Linked DNA regions of Homo sapiens: region 2 is linked to region 1. The links are contacts of gene promoters, found by promoter capture Hi-C in human tissues and cell types (Jung and others, 2019). All regions are on one chromosome and are shown on one strand. The core of a region is centred on a gene start or on the middle of the fragment in contact, and the rest is flanking DNA. Distances in the headings are between cores, read along the strand shown.

Evidence for each region. The method cuts DNA at HindIII sites, captures the fragments that hold promoters and counts their contacts. A contact is called where the count stands out against the background at its distance.
Region 2: a contact is called between a fragment that was not itself captured here and the fragment with the promoter of GSG1L in region 1, in 1 of the 25 tissues and cell types used here (aorta).

Annotation. Positions count from the first base shown.
Region 1 is chr16:28,060,933-28,065,448 of GRCh38, reverse strand. It overlaps GSG1L (GSG1 like), which reads left to right and starts at 1,735. Exons shown (of 7, transcript NM_001109763.2): 1 at 1,735-2,373. The coding sequence starts at 2,025. The HindIII fragment of the contact is 12,466 bases long and covers 1-4,516 here.
Region 2 is chr16:28,191,887-28,196,403 of GRCh38, reverse strand. The region is part of intron 1 of XPO6 (exportin 6); the gene reads left to right. Among named protein-coding and RNA genes, the nearest start is that of XPO6, 18 kb to the left of the region's middle. RefSeq lists an enhancer at 2,625-2,854 and a silencer at 4,109-4,281. The HindIII fragment of the contact is 4,311 bases long and covers 93-4,403 here.

The DNA.
Region 1 (4,516 bases), core at 486-2,985:
GCTGAGATTGCACCACTGCACTCCAGCCTGGGCGACAGAGTGAGACTCCATCTCAAAAAAAAAAAAAAAAAAAAGATGCTACTGGATTCTTTACAGCTGTTTGGCGATGATGTATTTTCTCTGTCAACCAATACTCTCAATGCCACCATTATCACATGGAGGTCCTCTCTTTCAAAATAGTTGAGAATCTCTTGCACAGTGCCAGAAAAGGGCTCTAAAAGCAAGTTTGGAGACCCTTGGCCATCCTTCGTGCCTGCTCTTACCAGGGACGTTGCCCACAACGTTTTCCTCTCACCTACCCCCCGGCAGATTAGCAGCAGCTGACAGTGGGTGCCGGCTCACCCACAGGAGTAAGGCAATTCATAATCGGTTAACCTTGAATTCTGCAAGGCCTGCCACTCGGCAAGCCGGGGGTTGTCGGAGCAGTTCTCAGCTTGGGCAGAATTCAAATGAGCTCTTATAATCAACATGCAATTAATTGTTGCACGCCCTGAGCATCTGGGCAGTAAGTGCTGTGCAGCGCGAAGGGAGTTCAGGGAGCGTGGTCATCTTAGAGCAGAGGTGGGGACGGGGTTGCACACAGTTTCCACGTTGCACAGGAGAGCCTGAAGAGGTTTGTCTGAGTTTGGTCAACTGATCTTGGTTCAGATGTCAGTAACAGTGAATTATTAATTGAGTCTACTGTGTGCCAAATGCTTTTTGCAGCCATGATCTCATTACAGCAGCCCACTGTGATATACCTTGAAGGGGGGGGGGTCCTCCCTTTTTTATAGTTATGGAAATTGAGGCTCAGAGAGGGTAAGTGACCTGTTCAAAGCCACACAGCTGGTCAAGCCCTAGATATGCTTGATCCCAAAGTCAGTATGTTTGGCCACCCTGCCCCCACCCGAATCTTGAAGATTCTACCCACATTCACATGGTGTGCATGTGAGCAGGGTTGGCAGCCCCTGTAGGGCACCACTGCCTGGTAGCTGCAATAACTTTGTGGCCGGCATGGGCCCTCCTAGGGTTCTGCTGTTTGGGATCTCAGGTGGGTGCAGTGGGCTGTCTGGGGTACCCTGTTGCCACTCTTCCTGCAGTTGCATGCCATGGTTGGGAGCCCAGATGACAGTTTCATCCTTGGAGGGGAGCTCTTCCCAGATGCTGGAGGTGACACCCAGGAGACAGAAAAACGTTTCAAACCCTATAACCCAATACTCCAGGAGGGGCGCCTCCTGACAGATTCTGCCACTCCAAGTCCAGCATGGGTTGTCTTATCCAGGGGGTCTTGCAGCTCCCTGGCTGTGGGAAGCCCTGCAGGCTCTGCTGTTTAGAACCTTTGGAAAAACTCCTTTCTCAGGGTCTGGTGCGGGGGTCCTTTTGGGGATCCCCTTCTGGGACAGGGTCCTGCTGGTCCGTGTCCCTCTTGGGGAGCCCCAGCAGGCTCTGCCCTTGTCTCCTGGGGCAGGGCCTCTCTGGGTCTCATGAGATGCCCGCTCCCGGCGGGTTTTGTTGCCCCACGTCCGCCGTGGGGATCTTTTCTCAGGAGCGCCTTGCCTGGGATTCTCCTTGCGTCTCAGACCCTCACCCTGGCTCGGATTTCTTTCGGGGGCGTCCCTCCACTCCCAGGCCCCCGCCCGCGCCCGGCGTGGCGGCCCCCTCTCCCCGTGCGGGCGGGCTCCGGAACAGTGTCGCCGGCCGCCTGCAGGTGTCTCCCCACGGAGGGGCGCGCGTCCCTGCGCCGTGGCCGCTGCCAGGCGCCAGCGGCTCCTAGCCGAGGTGCACTCGCGCTCCGGGCTCCGGGCGCGCCGTAGCCGCTCCTCCACCGCCGCCCGCCCCGCCAGCCCGCCCCGCACGCCCCCCGCGCCGCGCCCCCACCCCGGGGTTGGGGGGGGCATGGGCCCGCGCCGCGTCCGCCGCCGCCGATCTCAGGCACCCGAGCCCCGGGGCGCGGCGGGCAGCGGCCGCTGACGCGGGGCGCCAGCTGCCAACTTCGCGCGCGGAGCTCCCCGGCGGTGCAGTCCCGTCCCGGCGGCGCGGGCGGCATGAAGACTAGCCGCCGCGGCCGAGCGCTCCTGGCCGTGGCCCTGAACCTGCTGGCGCTGCTGTTCGCCACCACCGCTTTCCTCACCACGCACTGGTGCCAGGGCACGCAGCGGGTCCCCAAGCCGGGCTGCGGCCAGGGCGGGCGCGCCAACTGCCCCAACTCGGGCGCCAACGCCACGGCCAACGGCACCGCCGCCCCCGCCGCCGCCGCCGCCGCCGCCACCGCCTCGGGGAACGGCCCCCCTGGCGGCGCGCTCTACAGCTGGGAGACCGGCGACGACCGCTTCCTCTTCAGGAATTTCCACACCGGCATCTGGTACTCGTGCGAGGAGGAGCTCAGCGGGCTTGGTGAGTGCGCGCGGGCGGCGGCCAGCTCGGCTCCGGCTCCCCCGGGGCGGCGCGGCCATCGAGGCCCGAGCCCCGGACCCGTTCGCCCTCCTCCCGCCGCCTGGGCCCAGCTCCCAGCGCTCCGCCTGGCTAGGGGCGACGTTCCGGGGCAGGGGGCGCGCGCCGTTCCGGGGCCGGGGACCAGCATGGGGGGACGTGCGGGACGCCCCGCCGTGGAGAGGTGCAAGGCAGAGCTCCTACCCGCTGCGGACGCCCCGCGGCTTTGGGGACGCTCCCGCGCCCCGGGAAGGCGCCCACCCCCGCTGCCGGTCGGAGGGGCGCGCGCTGCTTTCCGCTCCTGAACTCATCTCCACGCTCGCCCCCTCCTCCTCTTCCTTTCGCGGGGCACTAGATGCCCCCACCCACCCCGGAACGCCCCTGGGGGTGGGGGTGATGCAGGGACTCCTGCTACCAGCCGCCCCTCCTGCCGCAGATCCACAGACCCGGGAGCCTTCCACCCCCATCGCCAACCCACGCCGAACCTCCCAGACGGGAGTGGGGAGTGGGGGAGTCCCGCGGGCTCCCGGAAAGCCGCACCCGCCCAGAGGCACCCCTATTGCCAGACGCCAGGGAGCCCTCTGTATCCTGGCCCCCTCCTGGGAGAGGCAGGCTAGGGAACTGGGGACAGCTGGGCAAACTCCGGGTCGAGGAGTCCAGGAGGGCTTAGCTTAGCACAAGGCTCCTATTAGGTTCGGTGGGGGACTGACTTTTCAGAAGGCAGATCAGACTGTCCCCTTTGCCTGGACCCCCTCCTCTACCCTCCAGAGGCAGCCTGGGCTGGAGTGCGTGTTTTGGAGGCAGACAGCCGGGCTGTGGCAGGGCCCAGGGGACAGCTGCCGGACAGCTGGTTGTGCCACACAGCAGGTAGAGCTGGCCCGAAAGACGTGGTATCTCTGAGCGGGTGTCCAGGCATGGACACCCTCCTGAGTGAATTGACCTCTTTCTCCAAGGTTAAAACTCCTCCCTGCATGCCTAGCTCCTCAGTGTGGACACCACACATATGTGTGTGCTCAAGGGTGGGTTACAGCAGACCTCCACCCTTAGTTTGCCCTAAATAAGCCAGTGGCCTAAGTGGTTTAGAGGGCAGAGGGAGGAAGCTGTGAAGCGAACCCAGTGAAAAGCTCCAGGCCTCTGCACAGGCTGCATCCTCTGTCTGGAATGCCCTTCCCCGCCCCACCTCCTTCTTCAGGGGCTCCTTTCACTGGGACTCTCCCACCTGCCTTCCATGTCAGGATACTGAGGAGGGACAACCTTGTGAGCTCCCCGTTGGAGGGAGGGTCTCCATCTTTGGATCTCACCACTGCGTTTATCTCCCTGCCACACTTGGCACTCCCTGACATTTTCTGGGGCCTGTTTTTGGTCACTAGCTTATAGTCCCCACTCCCCATAGGATGTCACTCTGTGAGGGCCAGCCCGGTTGGTCTTGTTCACTGCTGCCTCCCAGTAATGTCTAGCGCATAGTAGGTCTTCAATAAACATTTGCCGGGTGCATACTGGATGGGGTTGGGATGATGAACCGGAGGCTTCCTGCGGTGCTGCCTCCTCTGTCTCTCTTCTGGGGGTGGCTGACCAAACTTTTCTGTGACTTGAGCCAGGCTGGCCGTTTGTCAGAGATACATGGTGTTTGAATATGGACCTGCCCCTGATTGGTTTCATCCCATCAGACCCACTTCTGGTTTACACTCAACACTCAAATGTTTACTGTGGGATGCAATTAAAATTATTAACTTCAAAAGGCATCTTGGCCAAAATTCCCTGCCTTCCGCACAGCCCAACCCTAATCTCTCACACGGAGGCCTCGTAACACCTTGTTGTCAGGAACATCTTCGTCCTTGGAGGTAGACATCTTGCTACTGTACATCTTTCTCCAAGTTCAAGAAGGTGTTTCCAAGGCTCAGGAGACCCAGCCCTGGGGAGATACCACCTCTGCCTCCCTTCCTCTGTGCACACACCTGAAAATACAATGAGGCATCTCTGGCACCGGAGTGGTCCTGTCTCTACCTCTGTGGAGTGTCCTGGTCCAAGCTGCTCAGCTGAGCCTCTTAATTGTTTGGAGTCTCTGTTGGCTGCTCCCTGAAGGTCACGGTCCCAGTACTTGCTACAA
Region 2 (4,517 bases), core at 999-3,498, 130 kb before region 1:
CCCTGGTGACCACAAATCTAATTCCTGTCTCATGAATTTGCTTATTCTGGATATTTTATATAAATTATCATACACTATATGGTCCTTCCTTATCTCCGAATGCATAAAAAGATGACATAGATTAAGTAAAAGTTGAATTGAATCTGTATTTTGAAAATAGAAATCCATCTGTGGCAGCAGTCTTAAATTCAGCATATTTAATTGGCCAGGATGTCCCATGCCCCAGCCACTAGGAAGAAATAGTTTATACCAATAGTTACTGCCAGTGGACAGAGGGTTATAGACCTTGGGGTAGGATGGAACCTAAAATAGAGACAAAGACAGGAAAAGTATGGGGCTTAGAGAGTGAAAGCCAGTGAATGGCAGGCAGCACATTCCATGGTGGAATAAACAGAAAACTTCTAGGCATTTACCTTGATTTGGAGTGCAAATTGGAGAACTTGCAGGTAAGTGCAAGTTCTTCCGTGATCAAAAAAATAACCAGCCTAAAGAATGAATGTTTGTGACAGTGTCTAGTACATAAGACCTTAGTAAATGTGCGGAGTTTTGCTTAAGAGCAAGAGTGGTATTTGGGATGACAAGGACAAGCAGAGAGGATCCCCAGGCATCTCTTTCTCAGTGTTTGACATTTTCTCTCTTTCTTTTTCTTTTTGAGACGAGTCTCTCTCTGTCACCCAGGATGGAGTGCAGTGGCGTGATCTCTGCTCACTGCAACCTCCGCCTCCTGGATTCAAGCAATTCTTCTGCCTCAACCTCCCGAGTAGCTGGTACTACAGGCTCACGCCACCACACCTGGCTAATTTTTGTATTTTTAGTAAAGACGAGGTTTCACCATGTTGACCAGGCTGGTCTCTAACTCCTGACCTCAAGTGGTCCGCCCGCCTCAGCCTCTCAAAGTGCTGGGATTACAGGTGTGAGCCACCACGCCTGGCCATGTTTGACTGGGATCCTTGGGTGTGGGGAAATGTGTTTTTAGGTGAGTAGTTTTCATGGTTCCATATACATATATGTATAGAGCTTATTCACTATTTTTCATAGTTAGTAGGTGTTCTACAGTGTGGATGTACCTTATTTAACCAATCCTGCCTTGATGGAAATTTAAGTTGTCCCCATTCTTTTGTTTTACAAACGGCATTGACATGAAGATCCTTTACACCTAAGCTTTGGAGGAAAAATCACCAAAAGTGTATTGCTGGGTGAGGTTGTCTTTGTGTTTGAAATTTGATAAATATTGCTGACTTGTCTTGGCCCCCACTGAGGTGGCACCAGTTGTCTTGCCATCCCTGTATGAGAGTGAAAGATGTAATTTCAGTTCATTATGGTCGGTGTCATGTTGAAGCCCACAAGGAGTGAGGAGCTCTGAGGGTGGGGAAGGGGGAACTGCATTAGGCTTCACAGAGTTGGGGACCTTTTCGAGGAGTCAGGAGCATTCTAGATAGAGGAAATGGTGTGTGTGAAGACATGGAACTGTTATGTGGAGAGAAAAGGGTGAGTTTGGGTTTGGCTGAGGCAGAGGGTGGGTGGGTGGCTGTGGATGGTGAGGTGGGGACAGTAAGTCAGCTAGGTTAGGGCCAGGTGATGAAATGGTTTAATCACCCCTGGTGGTCAGGTAGCAAAGACCCTGGGCGGCAGTGGTGATGGGGCTTGCAGGTGAAAGATACTTGAGAGAGAATGTACGACCAGTCTTTTTAGCAATCTTTTTTTACCCCCGAAAAACTTTCTAGACTTGTTAGAACCAGAATCACAAAGCTGGGAAGGGCTTTAGTGCAGGGCTTTTCTGGTGCTCTGTAGGCCCATAGGGATTCTTGGAGGTGTCACAGACACTAGGTTTGGGAGTACAGACAGGCATTTGAGACCCCCTCCTCTACCCTTATTAATTAAGCAGTTTCTCATTTAGTCTGCTTTATATGGTGGGGTTCTATGCAATATTTCTTTCTTTAAAAAGAAAAAAAGTGTTTGCTGCTAGAATCATGAGTCTAGTCCCAAACTCTTACTGTCCTGAACACAGATGGAGGCCTGTGGGACACGTTTTCATTCTTACATTCTTCGTTTGCAGCAGTGAGAGGTGATTTGTATATAAAAATGAAAGTGAAAAGGCATTTGGCATTCTTGGGATGTTTTTGAGCATTTAGCTAATTTTTTATGTAGGATTTTTATTTTGTTCCTTTTTTTTTAAGCTCATTGACTCACCAGTGAAATATCTAGTGAAATAGTTTTGCTCATTTATGGATGAGGGTGCTAAGGGATTTACATCCATTGATGTCATTCCCATAGCTACTTGGTGAGGGGGAGTACTGTTGAAAGTTCATTTTGCAAGTGAAGAAACTTGAGCTCCGAGAGGTTAGGTAATTTGCTCAGGGGCAAGCAGATAAGTAATCAGGAAGTCATCATTAGATGCGACCTGCCCTGATTCCACAGCCCACACCCTTCAGTTCATGCTAAGGCCTTCCCAGGACAAGCGTACCCAGCCACCTGTTGGGGGTGGAAGGGCCCAGGAAGAAGAAGGGTGTTGGATTTCTGGTCAGTCTTGGCTTTGGGCTGGTGCCTGTAGAAGGGGCAGAGCTGAGAGACGGACTGAGTCACTTCTAGCAAAATTGGTTGAGAATCGTGGGACGGGTGATGCGTGCTTGCTGTGCGGGGATTGAAGGCTCATGGAAAACCCCATGTAGAGTTATCATCTTCTCTCTCCAGGGATGTGAGCAAGGCCAAGGTTATTGGCCGAGTACCTGTTTCATTTCACCTGTGCACCGACTCCCTCCAGAAAGGCGCCATCTGCTTTCTTGCTGCTCACTGCCACCACAGTCACCACTACCACTGTTTTGCCTTTCTAATCCAGTGCCTCGCCAGTGGGGTGGAGGGATGGAACTGTGTATAGTTCCAGTATTACAATATAGTTTTTTATATTGTACAAGTTTTAGTTTATTAGTGGAACCCGGGCACATGAAAGTCCCTGGTTAGAGAGTTGCTTTGCAGCGTCTTCTCCCTTTGTGGCTAGTAATGATCTGCGGGGATGGGAGGAGCATTGAGAACCTATTGGCCATGAAGAGTCACTTCCTCCCGACACAGATCTCTGCTTGTGCAGCGCCCCCACACTTCCTGCGTAATGCAGTGCCCTCAGAGATCCCCCAGCAGCTGCCACCCCGGCAACATTATCTATATTTGCAGGGATACTTAAGGACCCTTTGGCAATTGGCAGTGATATTTTGAGAGCCTTTGAGGAACGTGACTGAACATGAATTTTAAAAAAGTATAAAGGTGGCACTAGGTGTATTCAGAGGGACAAGCTGGTGGCAACTTAGGGGGACTTTGCCTTTATAAAAGGAGACCCACACATGGAGTTTACGTAAGAAGAACTTACAGTGAGGGAGAGATGACTGTATCAGCCAATACAGATGAAGAATGCTCCAGGAGCTTGCGGGGTTTGCCCACAGTGCCACAGACTAGACTCAGTAGAGCCAGGACTGGCTCTAATCTGGTACTTTCTCTGCCTGCCATGCTTGGCCCTGTACCCCTCAGTGGCAGCACTGTTTCCCATTAGAGAAAACAAACCTGTTAGTTTTCTCATTGCTTATGTAGAGGGTAACCTTCCTGTGTCCCCTCATTCTTGCTTTAGCCTACATTCAGGGGGGTTTTGACTGCACACCAGGTGGGAGCAGTATTGGGGCACATTCTTCTGGTCCTGTCTCCACCCTCTCATTTCTTCCTTTCCATAGGAGTGATTTATCTGATTGGTACACCAGGGAGAGCCTCACTCCATTGGTCCACATCTACCCAGTGTGAGGTCACTGCATCAGAACACTGCCTGGCTTTGTGCTTGAACTCTCTCCCCTGCTTACCCTTAAGAGAAGCCTGTCCTTAGCTGTGTCCTACCTTCCTTTTGTGGCTAGCACCATTCTTTGTCCCTAGGTCTGGAGGCGGGTGGCAAGGCCAACTAGAAATGGGAAGGGCGAGGCATTGCAGCTTTGCCATTGACAAAGAGGATGGTAGACTTTGGTTTGCTCTTGGTTTCTTGAGACTTTATAGCAACCGAGTGGAACCTGGAGGGGATGATTATGCTACCCCAGTTCCCAGTAGTAATGTGGTCTAGAGATTTTTACCAAAGTCAAATAATATTATAACTTTTTTTTTTTTTTTTTTTTTTGAGACGGAGTCTTGCTCTGTCACCCAGGCTGGAGTGCAGTGGCCCGATCTCTGCTCACTGCAGTCTCTGCCACCTGGGTTCAAGTGATTCTCCTGCCTCAGCCTCCTGAGTAGCTGGGATTACAGGTGTCCGCCACCACCACTCCTGGCTAATTTTTGTATTTTTATTAGAGATGGGGTTTCACCATGTTGGCCAGGCTGGTCTCGAACTCCTGACCTCAGGTGATCTGCCTGCCTCAGCCTCCCACAGTGCTGGGATTACAGGCGTGAGCCACCGCGCCCAGCCATTATGTTAACTTATTTAAAATGCCAAGTCTACCTGGGAATAATTCAGGATGAAGGTGGTTTTACAAGAGACTTGCTCTTAAATAGCACAG